Regions from separate parts of the Homo sapiens genome. Here region 1 is linked to region 2. Evidence: promoter capture Hi-C in 16 types of primary human blood cells and fetal thymus (Javierre and others, 2016). All regions are on one chromosome and are shown on one strand. The core of a region is centred on a gene start or on the middle of the fragment in contact, and the rest is flanking DNA. Distances in the headings are between cores, read along the strand shown.

Region 1 (7,304 bases), core at 340-2,839, 950 kb after region 2:
ACCAAATAACATTTTCAACTTCTTGATTGTTTGGCAGCTGTGGGTGAGCTGGGATAGATGGGGCTGGGACATGGACTTAAACCCAGGAGATTCCTCCTAGATATTTTAATATCTTCTCAGTCAAAACCAAGAGAAGTAAATGTTCACATTTTAACCCACCTTGGGCCCTTTCACTTTTACTTTCTAATATGAGGAATCTGACCTTATCCCTAAGTTGACAGAGTGGCCTCACCCTAGGATCCATCCCACTCTAGGCCACAAAGGTACCTAGATGGCTACCTCTAGGCTCACCACTACTCCAGAGCTTGGAGTGTACAGACCCTGCAGCTACTGAAACCAAATGAAGGATTTGGTTTCTGTCTCACTGGCTTCCCCACCCCTGACTGCAAGGCCCGCCATCATCCTAGGGGACTTCAGTATACAAATTAAAATTCAGCCATCACCTGGGCTTCCCGGTTCCTAAACTGCCCCATCTCTTCCACTCTACCTCAGCCACCCACCTCCATTGTCACAAACGGGACCTGCTCCACTATAAATCACCAATCTCAATCAAGCCTTCAACATTGCTTCACAATCCAAACAGGTACTAAATTTCTTTAGTACTTTTCATTCTCCAGGATGACTATTTCAAATCTTCTCCATTCTTTTCTTAAACCTCCAACCCCTGTGTCCACCCTCTCACTCTTAGCCAATAATCTTATGTCTTAGTCCATTTTGTGTTGCTCTAACAGAATACCTGAGAATGGCCTCAAGTGATCCTCCTGCCTAGGCCTCCCAAAGTTCTGGAATTGCAGGTGTGAGCCACCATGCCTGGCCCACACTGGCCACCTTTGAGTTCCAAATGCCATGTCTTTTTGGCCACAGGAGCTTTGCACATGCTGTTTCTTTTGCCTGAAACACTCTCTTTACTCCCTACCTCTAGCCACTTTGCCTGGCTAATCCTACTTAATACTCAGATTCCAGTTCCAGCATCACTTCCTCAGGGAAGATTTCCTTGACTAGTTCCTGCAGGCTAGGTCAGGTTCCCTTGTTAGATCCCTTGTAGAACTGTCTTCCTTTCTTCATAGCACTTATCTTAGATGCATTTACACCCTTATTTGCGTGATTCCTTGGTTAATCACTGTCTCTCCCACTACACTCCAGAATCCTTCAGAACAGGAACCATGTCTGTTTTTGTTCCTCCTTGTTTCTCTAGCTGCAAACACAATGCCTAGCACATAGATGCTCCGTATTTAGAATTAATTAATTAATAAACATTTCAAGTGAGAAAGTGAGACCATCCCAATTCCATTAGAGGAGTATGGCTTTACCTTAATGAATCTGCTAGCATGACTGTGTTTTAATACCAAACATGACCCACACCATGTAGAAACAGAAGGTTATTCTCTCATGTCTGCCTCCAGAGATAATGAATTCCTCTCAATGAAGGTATCTTCAAGCAGATATCTAAGGAGAAGTTGAATGACTGCTTATGGTGATATAGCCACAAGATGATCTCTAAAGCTTTTGACATCCAAGGTTTTGTGATTCTATGATTTGATGCATAGAGAGGGTGGCTTGAGCAAAGGGAATTCAGACACCCTCTAGGATGGAAAAGCCATGGAGAAAAGCACTTTAGGATTTTAGTCACATTGAGATTACCTCATTCATTTCTTTCCTTCCCACAAAAGCTTCTCTTCTAGTTTATACTTTGGAGGACCATTTTTTCCTATGTTAAAGATTGCCATAGGTAGAGGGTCTTTAATTTTCAAAGCTCTCTCAGTTTCAAGATTCACTGGAAATCTTGTTTCCAATTTTCATTTTTCCTGCTTAAATTGAAAGCTATTTCTTATGCCTCTCATAGCAAGGATGAAAGTACAGTGGTTCAGGTATATCCAAAGAGTTTTTAATAAAGGTTATTGTTTTGGGCTGAATGCAAGTCCCCACACTTCACAGTACAGAGAATTAAGATGCCAACTCTGATGAAATCAGACCCTTGTTGTACATGTGTGGGTAACTCTTGATATTTGGATGTTAAAGGTCTCATAGGGCTACAGTGTTGTCAGACTGTGGGGCCTATAAAGGTCATAGCCAAACCCCTCAACGTAGGGGGTTGGCACTCACTTGAACTGTCAGTTAATAAATGGTATCAATCAACAACTGAGTCCTAAGGATCACCTGGAAAAGAAATGCATTCTTCAGAGAGGGAACCAGAGCTGAGGGGGAGGACTCCAAGAAGACTGTGACGCAGGTTTCTGTAGTACTGGCCAGGGAGGGAACCCAGCCCTCAAACACTTGCCCCCTGAGGTTGGAGGTAAGAGGTGCCTACCCTGTGAGCACAGGTCAGGAATGGAGAGGGAAGGAGCCAGCCTTCTGCTGCTTTGGAGCCTGAATATAGTACAGACAGAATGTGTGAGTCTCAGAGAAAACTTGGCTGTGGTTGGCTCTGAGACATGTGCTGTGAAAGCTGGACTGTTTGGGTTTCTGGCATGTCCCTCTCCTTCTCCCAGACTGCTTCAGAAAGTTCTTTGTGCAGTTGCTTCCTGCTCACTCTACTGTGCCCAGGGAAAGCCAAGGATAGGCTTTGTGCCTCTCTCAGGCCAGAGTCTTAAAAAGAGAGTGACACATCGCTGGGGCATGTAGTATGTGGCAGCAGGGGCAAAAAGAAAGAGGCCAAGCCCTACCATGGAGTTCACTGTGGGGGTACTGGGAATGAGAGCTTCTCTCCTGCATGCCTCCTCCCCAAGATATTCGTTGCTTCAACCTGGGAGCCCCCAGGTTCTGTTTTACCAAGGAAGTGATGATGGTGAGATCAGACGGAGACCTAGGGCCCTAAGGGGAAAGGAGAAATTCAAAGGGTCAGAGTTGGGGGAAAACTAGAGCTGCTTCTTCCATAGATTCTCTCTTCAGTGCTATGAGTTTCTCCTTTCAAGGGAAGCAGCTTCTTTCTTCACTGAGTACTTTTTAATGGGTGAACATGAGACATACCTGTCAAGATAGAGGTAGATTTTCCATCTGGTAATGGGTAGATGGGACCCCTCTAGCACTGCTCTTCAGATCCTCTCTGGAGTCTGCTTCCCAGGCAGGGCAAGGCCTTGGCCAAAAGGCTCCTGGTCCTGGATCTGGTGCAGATTGCTTGTCAAGGCCAGAAAGCCCCTCTCTGTAGCTTCCTGCCTCATCACATTGGAGGCAACTGCCTCCTGAAAGTGGTGAAAGTTAGGGCCAGGGCGTAAGGAAGGAGCTCCATCCTCCACAACTCAGTGTGAAGTCACGGTCAGACTCATCTCCTGTTATCAGTAGAGCTAAGTATAGAAGGAAGCTGAGTAGAGGTCTTGAGGCAGTAAATCTGGGCAGAGCACTAGAGTCCAAGTCACCTTGGACACTGACCCATGTGTGACCTGGGACTTTGGGCCCAAGGAAAACCTGGGTTTCCCTGGCTTGGGGGCTTCTCCAACAACCTGCTCCTCTACTGCCTCTGTGTTGGAGGGAGGGCAATACTCTGGCATATGCCCTCCACAAAGCCAAAGCACTTCAGCTTTGTGGCTGTCCTGTCTGCTGGAGGATCTGTGGTTCTCCTCCTGTGGCTTGGGTCCTGGTCCAGTGATCTCGCAGTTGCCTCAATCAGCTCCCACTCTCTTCATAAATCAGCACTTTGGTATTTTAAAACAGCATTAACTTTGGAATCAGGCAGGCCTGGGTTTACAACCCAGCCTAGCACTTCTGAGCACAAAGAATCAGAGCCAGTTTTCCTATCAGTTAAAAAAACGGGGAGAAATAGTTACTTCGTAAGGTTGTTGTGCAGAAAAAATGTCATGATGACCTTAAAGTGTCTTATATATGGTCCTCAGTACATATTAGACCTCCCTGAACTGTTCTTTGTTGGAGAGAATAAGCCCTCCCTTTTTCTTCTCTCATGATGTCTTTCTATTCTTTTATGCTGCCTGAGACACATTCACCAGCAGGTTATTAAGTCTGGTTATCTGCTGGGAGGAAACTCCCAGAGGGGAAGATTTCTATGTATAGCAAAGGCTTGTGGGTTGGGTGCTCCTCCTCATTCCCCAGGGTGAACATCCTCTGAAATACAGATTCCTCATGCAGAGAAAAGAGGCCTGCATGCCCTTGCTTCAGGGATGGGTTGGGTGAAATGTGGGTGGGGGGATTAGAGGGAGATGATCTCCCTCCAAGGAGTGCAGAGGAAAGAAGCCTAGCAGCTTCCAGTGGCCATCGTAGAAGGGATCAGGAGATAGAGCCCAACTTCCAACTATCTGGAAACTTTGGAAGGTGGATCCTTTGTCACTTTACATTTATTCCACTGTAACAATTCACCAAACCTAGTATGTGCAATATGTTGCTTTTGTTACTTCTGTCCTGTTTTGCCTTCATGATGGCCAGTAGAGCCCTTTACCTGAGGGTTATCTTCAGAATTATCTTTGGGGGAGGGCCAGGGCAACTTTTTCTCACTCTTGACCCAGTCCAAAGGAGAGATGTGACCCACCCAAAGGGATAATGTGTTAATGGCAGCTTTCAGGATGGAAGTCTCTAGGCCTGCAGGAAGGAAGCCAGGAAACCACTCGAAGTTCATCTGACCCTGACACATGGGTATGGAAGCGCAGGAGGAAAAACAGTGAGGCTTCTCCAGGACATTCCTCAGGGATGCTCAGCACATTCACTGGTTGGTCTAAACTAATATCTGGGTTTGTTTATTCTATCAGGTATGTGGTCTCCAGAGTGGATGGCATCTTGAACTCCCAACACGTCAGTTAACAGGCTCCCTCTTTCTTCTCTGAAGTCTGAGCTTGCTTTTGGACTCTCCCAGTAAGGCCTTGTCTTTCTGGAGTTTTTCTGGCTTTCAGGCTCATTTGTAGAATGTAGATAGCCATTGTTTTCTGAGTTTTGTAACAAATCAAGCTAGCACTGGTTACCAGCCTCACCCTCTTCCCCAAGAAATCACTGATGACTCACCCTTCTTGTGTACCCAGGGGGAGGATGACACTCTTCCCTGAATCCCTGAGTTGCATTCTTACAATATCCGGATACCCTAAATTCATGGACCATAAAGGTAAGAAGGTGGTTCTTCCAGGCATTAAAGGCCAGCATGATGGACATGGAAAAGTTATTGCTAGGGTGATCTGGGGCAGAAGCTGAGGTAGCTGTTCTGAACAGGAGTTCTAGGCTAGGAGAGGTCAGCCAAGAATATCAAAAGTGGAGAAGAATGTATCTATGTGAGAATCAGTTAGGGAGGGAGAGATTTCTGTGCATACTCACAGTAAGGACTGAACGAAATTATATGTAAATAACTGCTCTCTTCCCTTACTATGCTTTGGACTTGTCTATTGTGGCATTTTGGGTCTTCAAGGCTGCCCTACTGTCCTGGAACCTTTCCTCTTTTTGGACTTCTCTGACTGCTTTGGAACACCCCCTCCCCACATTGGGCCAGGTCTGCGCTGGCCTGCAGGGAGGTAATGCTGGCCTGGGACTGAGCAGACTCGACATGACTCCCCGCACAGACCGAAACCTTTTAACCCAGGAACGCCTAGTCCAGGCTCCAGGTTTTTTAACTGGCCTCTGCTGCCCCCACATGGTAACTGAGGTTATTTTTCCTCACCTGAGGTGACTTCTGATGAAAGGTTGTCAGAATCCCAAATTTCTGGCCACTTTCTCCAGCTCCTTATAGCCACCCCCACACTCTCTGCAGTGCTTCAGGAATGTTGCTCTGTCTTGAGACAGGCAGGATGAAACTCAGTCAAATCTTGGGACTGATGAGGTTCAGGGTCATGACTGGGAGGTGGTGCTGCTCACCAGCTCATCTGGGGATGTGGGAAGTCATAGGAGAAGGAAGGGGTTCAAAACACTGGAAATAGGATGACTTCTCTTACAGGCTCAAAAATCATCAGCCTGAAGCCCCTAAGATCCCCAAGCAACCATGTCAAAGTCTGAGGAGCATGACCCTTCCCAAGTTATTCCTCGAAGCTAATCCAGAAACCATGACTCAGCTTCTATTGCTTTGCCTGGTAGCTCTGATAGGTCAGAGGTGGCCCAGACTTTCCACCCTCTGGGCCTTGCACACCTTTGGACATTAAGGCATGGATGGAAAAGGAAGCAGGATTTTGATCAGATACAAAAGATGTAGGCTTCCCCCACAGAGTCCAGGGAAGTGTCCCATTGCTCTCAGAGAGAGTACCACTCTACCCACCAAGCCAGAAAAATGGGGTCCAAGGCCAAACTTGATGGCCCAGGTAGAGGTAAGAAAAGAGGTTTAGAGGGTGTATGCCTCTCAGACTATGAACTAGAAGAGTGAGGTTATTACCAGCATCCCACCTACCAGCTTAAGAATCTGGTGGGAAGATGTCTCCTAAAAGTAGATCTAGTGACTTTTGTCCTGGGCCCCAAGTCCAGCCCTCAGCATGCTGGGAAACTGCTGCTCATCCTCACTTTGGGCTTTTTTCTCTGAATATCCCTTCTATAACTCCTTCATGTATCTGAGACCACTATCTCATCCCAGAGGCAGAGCAAGACCTGTCTAGGGGCTGAGTCAGAAATCTGAGAGTCATAATTGAATTCCTGTAGGTCTTTACATGTATTATTTCATTAATCCTTATAAAAATTCATGAAAGATGGGTTGTTATCATTTTTACAGGTGAATAAACCAAGGAAGGCTCTGAGAGGTGAGATGATTGCCCAGGATCCCACAGCTAGTTCTTGGAGGAGTCTCTTACCCATTTATCTGGCTTTAAAGTCGGGATTCTTACAGACTATTACTCTGCCACCTTTTTTATTGCAGTCCCTTCTCTCCCTGATCCTTTATATCCAACCAGATGCCAAATCTATAGATTCTATTTTATAAATATCTCCTAAGTCTGCTCCCTCCTTTCTCCCTCTCTTCCCCTCCCGTCTTCCTCTCTTCTATTTCTCCTCTCTTCCTTTCTCGAGTCACTTGTCTCCTGTATCCTCTCTTAACTGAGGTAAAATTTACATACAGTGAAGTGCACATATCCTAAGTGTACAACTCAATGAGTTTTAATGAATGTGTGCTCTCTATTTCTACCACTTAAAATCAAGATGTAAAATACTTCCATCACACTTGAAAGTCTTCTCATTTTCACTTTCTCTTAGTCCTTGGCCCACACAGGCAACGATGGATATGGTTTCTGTTGCTGTGCATTAGTTTTCCTGTTCTAGAATCTCATATAAATGAAACAACACAGTATATACTCTTTGGGGTCTACTTCTTTTGGTTTTATGATATTTTGTATATTCTACATATTTGTTTATCAGATACTTCATTCTCTTTTTTGCTGACAGCTACATTGAGAGGTAATTCACAT
Region 2 (6,816 bases), core at 2,779-5,278:
TCTGCCCCTTAGTCAACCTGCCTCCTCCCCTACTCCCACAGAGTAGAAGAGCCCAAGTGCACCCCAGGTCACCTCTTGGCCACAGATGAGGACAGGCTGACCTGGAAGAGGCCGCTCCTCACTCACCCCACCAATCCCTGCTTTGCTTCCAACCATATCAGCCCAAACCAAGCTGCTCATTTAGCCCAGATCAATTGTCTGAGACTGAGCCAGCCAGTGGTGCACTCACCGAGAGGCTGTGCTTCAGTGTCTCAGGGTTCACTAGGAGGGGTGCAGGCCTGGCCTAAGGGGGATGGCAGAGATGGAGCATGGCAGGCAAACCATGCCACACCCAGTGTCCATAGGGGATACCCAGTGGCCTAGACAGATAACCCTTCCCCTTCTGAACCACAGTTCTCCCTGACTGGGGGATCATAGACTCCCACTGTGTCCGAACTGGAAGGACAGCAGACATCATCTTGTCCTATCCCCTTTATGTGACAGTAGGTGACACGGAGGCCCAGAGAAGACATGGGATGTGCCTAAGGGCACACTGGGAATTAGTGACAGAGCAATAGGATATCCAGGTGTTCTTTTGATTACAGTAAGCTCTTAAGGCCACTGATGTTTTGGTCACTCATCCCCGTACCCCAGCAGAGCTCATGGGAAAAAGGACAGTTGCCCCACTTTGGAGCACCTCGTGAGTCTTCACTCTATACCTCTTTCTTGGACTCCAGGAACCCAATTCCTCAAATAGGCAGAAGGAGTCAAAGTCCTAATCCATTTTCTACCAAAGGATTTTTGATTCTGAGCCCTTTGTTTTTCCCAGCAGAAAGGGCGAGGGTGGGATCTGGTCAGGAGTCAGAGACAAAGCCACGGGTGGGACTGGAGCAGGGTAGACAAGATTCCCCATGAGGGAGAAGTTGGTGACCCACAGGCTGATTGGCAGCAGAGTCCATGGTTTTCAATATGTAGTAGCCATGCAAGAAGAGGCAAGGGAAGGGGTCAGAAACACAGGGGTGATTTGGCCAACCCACAGAGATGGCCTCCCAGACAGGACATGTGTGTATCTATTTGTCAAGTGAAAATGTGATTCTGGACATACAAGCAGCACCTGCCTGCTGGCTCCCACTTTCACCTCCAAGAATGGAGAAGCCCTCTTGCCTGTCTCCCCAGGTACCCTGGCACCCCTCCCCCACCTTTCTCTGGCTATGTTGTCCCTTCCCTGACCTCTAGCCTCCTCCTCAGAAGTGGGGAGCTGGAAACCAGGGTGGGGGCTCCTCCACATGTCCTGCTGTGCTTCCCCCGTCCCACCTCCACCCCACACAGCTTTGGCTTCAAGAAGCAGAGAGGAGGAGAGGGAGAGAGGACTAGCTCATCATGCCTCCACCATTTCTGGGCTGGCTCTGCAGCTGTGGGAGTTGGTGGGAGGACTCCAGCTACAGCCTTACCCTGGTCTGTGACCCCAGGAAGAAGAACTGAAGGCTCCTTAGAGACCCGAAACCAACACAGCTGCCTTAAGTACCATGCAACAGACACATAAGCAAAGGGACACCCATGTGGCTCTTGTGTGCATTTGGTGTACCATGTGTGCCCACATGTGACAAGCCATGCCTCAAGCCCAGCCCCAGTGGTACCCAGAGGCTTCCCGTTCCCAGTGGTCCACGCTCTAGCCCCCACCCCTACTCAAGGACCTTGTTCTCAGGGCCAGGAGCCATCCAGGGATCAGCCCTGGCAAAGAAACCTTGGCCAACTGGCCCAGCCTGGGATTGCCACCTGTCTCCCAGCCGGGCAGGACAAGCATAAGAGGGTGTTTGCGAGAGAAAGGCCTCCAGGACAGAGAGGGGGCAAAGGAGAGAGAGGGACTCGCTGGAAAGGGCAAGAGGCCAAGGCAAGGGATGTGGGAAAGCAGTAAGTGTGGACAGACAGAAGGCCAGAACTGAGGGCTCTTCTCCCCAGGAAGTCCCCACCTTTGCCTCTGAGTGAGAGCACATCCTATCCCCAGAGGACAGAGGCAGCCAGAACGGTCACCAGCTTGGGGAAGTCATCACCTGCCCTCGACAGCAAAGCCTCCTCTTCCTCTCTCCCCACCCTAGGAGCTGCAGAGCCGGATAACCAGACAGGCCCTCCGCCTTGCGTGCCAGGGACCTGGCTCTGCCAGCCCAGCCTCCATTTTGCTGCTTCTCCCACAGATGCTCCTTCCATTTTCTAAGCTGGCAGTTTAGGCTGGGAGTGGAAGCCGGAGTTGTGCCCAGCACCCAGGGGCTCCCAAGCTGTGCCAAGTCAGGGCTGGGGGGCTAAGCCCTCTCACATCTGGAGGTACCCAAGGGGGACATGCCCCACTGGGGCCAGTCTCTGCACCAGGGCAGCTGCCCCTTGCCGGCTCCAGGCACCATGCCTGCTCTAGAGCGAGGAGGCTTGCTTCAGTTCCTTCAAATCTCCCCCCGCCCCCCGCCACCCCACCCCGGCACACACACTACAGAGCTGCTTGGACAAAAGAGTCCGTCCTTCTCAGCAGCCTCTCAGCCTTGCTTGGGACATGTCTCTCGCCTCCTTCCTCTCCCCTCCCTTGCCTGTCAAGCGCCTCTCACCAGAGACAACACATACAAACACACACTCACACACACACACCAGGCACACGCGTGCACACTCTTGCAGCCACATGCTCACACACATATACATGTAGCCACACACACAAACACAGCCATCCCTGCAGCCTCCTCTACAGAGACCTCTCCACATTCAGAGTGACATCTCCACACATCCATGTGCACATTCACACACAAAGGGACTGGGACGGAGAGGGACTCATGGCATCAAGGGATGAAGCTCAGCGAGCCGGGCACATGGGCTCCTCCACACGGATTCACGGCAGCTCCATTGCCTTCCTCCACACACCCCAACATACATACACACACATATGTCCCCCCTACGCAGAGCACCATGCCCCCTCCCCTCCCCTCCGGTGGAGACACACACCACACACAGCCCCCGCAGAACCTCCCGCCCCCTGCCAGACACAGAGACATTGCCAAACCCCCACACTGAGACAAACCCAATTCCCCCACACAGGAAAATGTGCCCCTCCGCCATGCCCTTACCCCCTGACACACGGCTCCTCCCAGTCTTCTAATGGAGACCCCCAAACAGACACACACAGGGAACCACACATTTCCCACCGCCTCTCTTTGCCCAGCTGCAATGCTAGGGCTCGGGGTCCACAGGCTTGGAGCCCCAGCGACCCCTACTGCATCCCAGGCCTCTAGGCCCCCACTCTCCAGCCCTCCTGGGTTGCCCCACCGCTCCCCCCTCCGCTGGTCCATACCTGCTCATACCAGTCCCGGTTGGTACAGGTGCACTCTGGCCACCAGCTGGGGCCGCTGCCGTTGAGTTTGGGGGTGCTCTTGCCCGGGACTGGCTTAGGAGGCACCGGCCCCACATCCCGGCCGGTGGGGATGAGCTTGGCCTTGGTGCGAGGGGTGGGGGTGGCCCCCGCCTGCGAGGGCAAGGTCTGCGAGCTGTAGCCCCCATAACCCGCGCTGGCGCCGTTGCCCCCACCTGGCCCGTAAGGGTCGGGGACTTGCCAGTCGCCGTAGCCCGGAGGCTCGAGGCGCCGCAGGGCGGCCAGGCGGGTCACCTCATAGCACTCAGGGCACTTACAGCAGTGCTGGTGCTTGTGCATGGCACTGCCCCCCGCGGCTCGGACCCCCCAGCCCACGCCGGATTCCACGCCGCCGCCACCGCCGCCACCACCGCCGCCGCCGCCGCCGGGCTCCCTGGCACACTCACACTGCTCGGACCAAGAAGGGGGGGGCACCCGTGGGGGCGCCCGGGCTGAGCGGGGCCTGGGGCCGGGCGGGCGTCCCGGGGCCTCGGCCCCCACGCTGCCCCGCACCCACGGCTCCCCCTCCAGCACTGGCGGCTCCGTGTCGCCCGTCGTGGCTTCTGGGCCGAGGCCCAGCGGCAAAGAAGAAGCGGGAGCTCAAGCAGAGAATGGGTGCTGTGAGGACCGCTTCTGCTCTGGTCCCCAGGATGGATCTGAGTGGAGTCAAGAGCATCTCTCCCTGGCTCCCTTCTCAGTTGATTCCAGCCAATCAGCGCGCAGAGGCAGGCAGCGGCAGCGGCAGCGGCGGCGGCAGGAATGCTAAACAGCGGCTACTTAAAGGAACAGAGGCAGCGGCGCCCCCAGGCTCAGCCCCAGCTCCCCCAATCTCTAGGGAACTGTTGGCTCTAAGGGCGGGGGCAGAGGACGTGGGCCACCAGAAAGCTCAGGCACCCGATCTTGTGCCCTTATATCGCCAGTTTTAGCCTGTCCTCTGCCCACTCCACCCCACCCCACTTCCAAGAGGGAGTTGCAGGGAGATGTTCAATGGGTCCCCAGGCTTGCTCTGAGCTGGGGCCACCAGAAGTAAAGACGAGGTAGCAGGATGGACAGAAAGGACGTTGGAGCAGGGTGAGGGAGGTGCTTTCTCTTACAGGGGACCAAAGAAGAAGGCAGCATATGAGGCCCGCTGTCCTGTCAATGCCTCCTACACAAGACTATTGTTCTCTCAGTCTCTAGGCCCTGAAATTACTGTGACCTCACACTTGACCTTCTACCATCACCAGTAAAGAACTCAACCCTAGAACAGGGATTAACAGAAAGCTCTAAGTCCTTGTCCCTGGCCCACAAACCCCTATCTCCTCCACTCCACCCCTGCATGGTTATGATGGGGGAAGGAACTTCAGGATATCAAGATGAAAGTCCAGGACAGGTGAAAAGGTAAGAAGGGATTTGAAGAGAGAGAAACCCTTCTATGGGTCTGGAATAGAGCTTAGGAATACTTGTCCAAGGACATCTCCTTACCCTCTCCTGGCTCAGCTTGTCGGGGGAATGGAGGAAGGATGACATACAAGAAAGACTATCTTTTTTGCAGTTCTTGTTTTGTTTTTAGCTACCAATTATTGGGTCTTTACAAAGTCCTAAGTGCATAACACGCAAACCCAAATCCTACCAAGCTGATGCTATTATTATCTTCATTTTACCAATGAGAAATTGAGGCTCAAAGATGTTAACACAGCTAGGTAACACAGCTGGAAGTGACAGAATCAGGATGCAAATCCTGATTATTTGACTCCAGAGTCCACGCTGTGAACCACTCTAGTACGACAGGTCTATTCTAAGTTCTCCTGCAGAATTTACATCTCAGTTCAATTCAGCAAATATTCATTGAGCACCTGCTCTGTGCAAGACCTTGACCTAGGTATTAGGGATACAGAGGTTCTTTTTTTTTTTTTTTTTTTTTTTTGAGATGGATTCTCATTCTGTCACCCAGGCTGGAGTGCAGTGGCGTGATCTCAGCTCACTGCAACCTCAGCTTCCCAGGTTCAAACGATTCTCCTGCCTCTCAGTCTCCCTAGTAGCTAGGACTACAGGCTCCTGCCACCACGCCCGGCTAATTTTTGTATTTTCTTAGTAGAGATGGGGTTTCATCACGTTGGCCAGGCTGGTCTCGAACTCCCGACGTCAAGTGATCCACCCACCTTGGCCTCCCAAAGTGCTGGGATTGCAGGTGTGATCCACTGTGCCCGGCCCTCAGAGATTCATTCTTAATTCAACAAATATGCGTGGAACACTTGCTGTGTGCCAGACACTGTTGTAGGATTTGGGGATATAGCAGGAAACAAAATAAAACAGAACAAACAGAACAAATCCCTGCCCTTGGGGAGCTTACCTCCTAGTGAGAGGACACAGACAAAAATAAACACAATAAATAAGTGAATTATGTAGTACAGTAGGTCCTCATTTAACATCATTGGTAGGTCCTTGGCAACTGGGACTAAGTGAAACAACGTATAACAAAACCAATTTTACCACAGGCTAATTAATATAAACAAGAGCTAAGTTCCTACAGCATATTTCTGGTCACAAAACATCACCCAGCTTCCAAATAAAGACCCAAAACACTTCTGATATTGAACATTGAAATAAATATGAGCTATGCATACATATAGAAAGATTAATGAAAACAAGTAAATAATTACCTAACCTTTGGTGAACCAGTGAGTGACAGCAGTGGAAGTGGTGGTGGGTTGAATCAAGGAATAAATGTATGCAAAGCGAAAATTGTAAGGAGCACCTCCCTACCACCATGCAGTTCAAAAGCAAACAATCACGAATATGGTGAGCTCGATGAGCACTTTCTTACCTCATAGTTTATTGTGCATTTGTATGATTATCAACTACTTGACAAATTTTTATTTTACAGTACTTTGTATCCATCCATCCATCCATCCATCCATCCATTCATTCATTTTTCAATCTGCTTATTTCAGTTCAGGGTCAAGGGTGGCCACAGCCTATCACAGCAGCTCAGGGTACAGGGCAGGAACCAATCCTGGACAGGATGCCATTCCATCACAGGGTGCGCTCACATACACACCCACACTCACTCACACTGGGACAATTTAGACACGCCAATTCACCTAACGTGCACTGGGATGTGGGAGGAAGCGCAGTACCCTGGAATACCCGAGAAAACCCACACATACATGGGGAGAGTGTGCAAACTCCACACAGACAGTGGCTCTGGCCAGGAATCGTTTTAGTTGTTTTTTTTTCCCCCTCATCAATGTTAAAACAAAATGATGTTGAAGAAAACAACATTATTCAGCATATACACCTGCTGTGTATATGGTGATAAGTGCCATGGAAAAAAATAAAAAGTAGAGCACAGTAAGATGGATTGGGAATGGTAGGGGAGGATACCAAGTTGTGATTTTTTTTTCAAGTTTTTTGCCCCCACAGTTTAATATGAAAGTTTTCAAACATACAGAAAAATTCAAAGAATTTTACAG

What was found. The method cuts DNA at HindIII sites, captures the fragments that hold promoters and counts their contacts. A CHiCAGO score of 5 or more calls a contact.
Region 1: a contact is called between a fragment that was not itself captured here and the fragment with the promoter of DLG3 in region 2, in 1 of 17 cell types (naive CD4 T cells). The highest score is 6.1, in naive CD4 T cells.

Annotation. Positions count from the first base shown.
Region 1 is chrX:69,491,596-69,498,899 of GRCh38, reverse strand. No RefSeq gene overlaps it. Among named protein-coding and RNA genes, the nearest start is that of NALF2, 9.1 kb to the left of the region's middle. The HindIII fragment of the contact is 167 bases long and covers 1,506-1,672 here.
Region 2 is chrX:70,442,047-70,448,862 of GRCh38, reverse strand. It overlaps DLG3 (discs large MAGUK scaffold protein 3), which reads right to left and starts at 4,028. Exons shown (of 19, transcript NM_021120.4): 1 at 3,305-4,028. The coding sequence starts at 3,661. RefSeq lists an enhancer at 3,724-4,510. The HindIII fragment of the contact is 21,076 bases long and covers 1-6,816 here.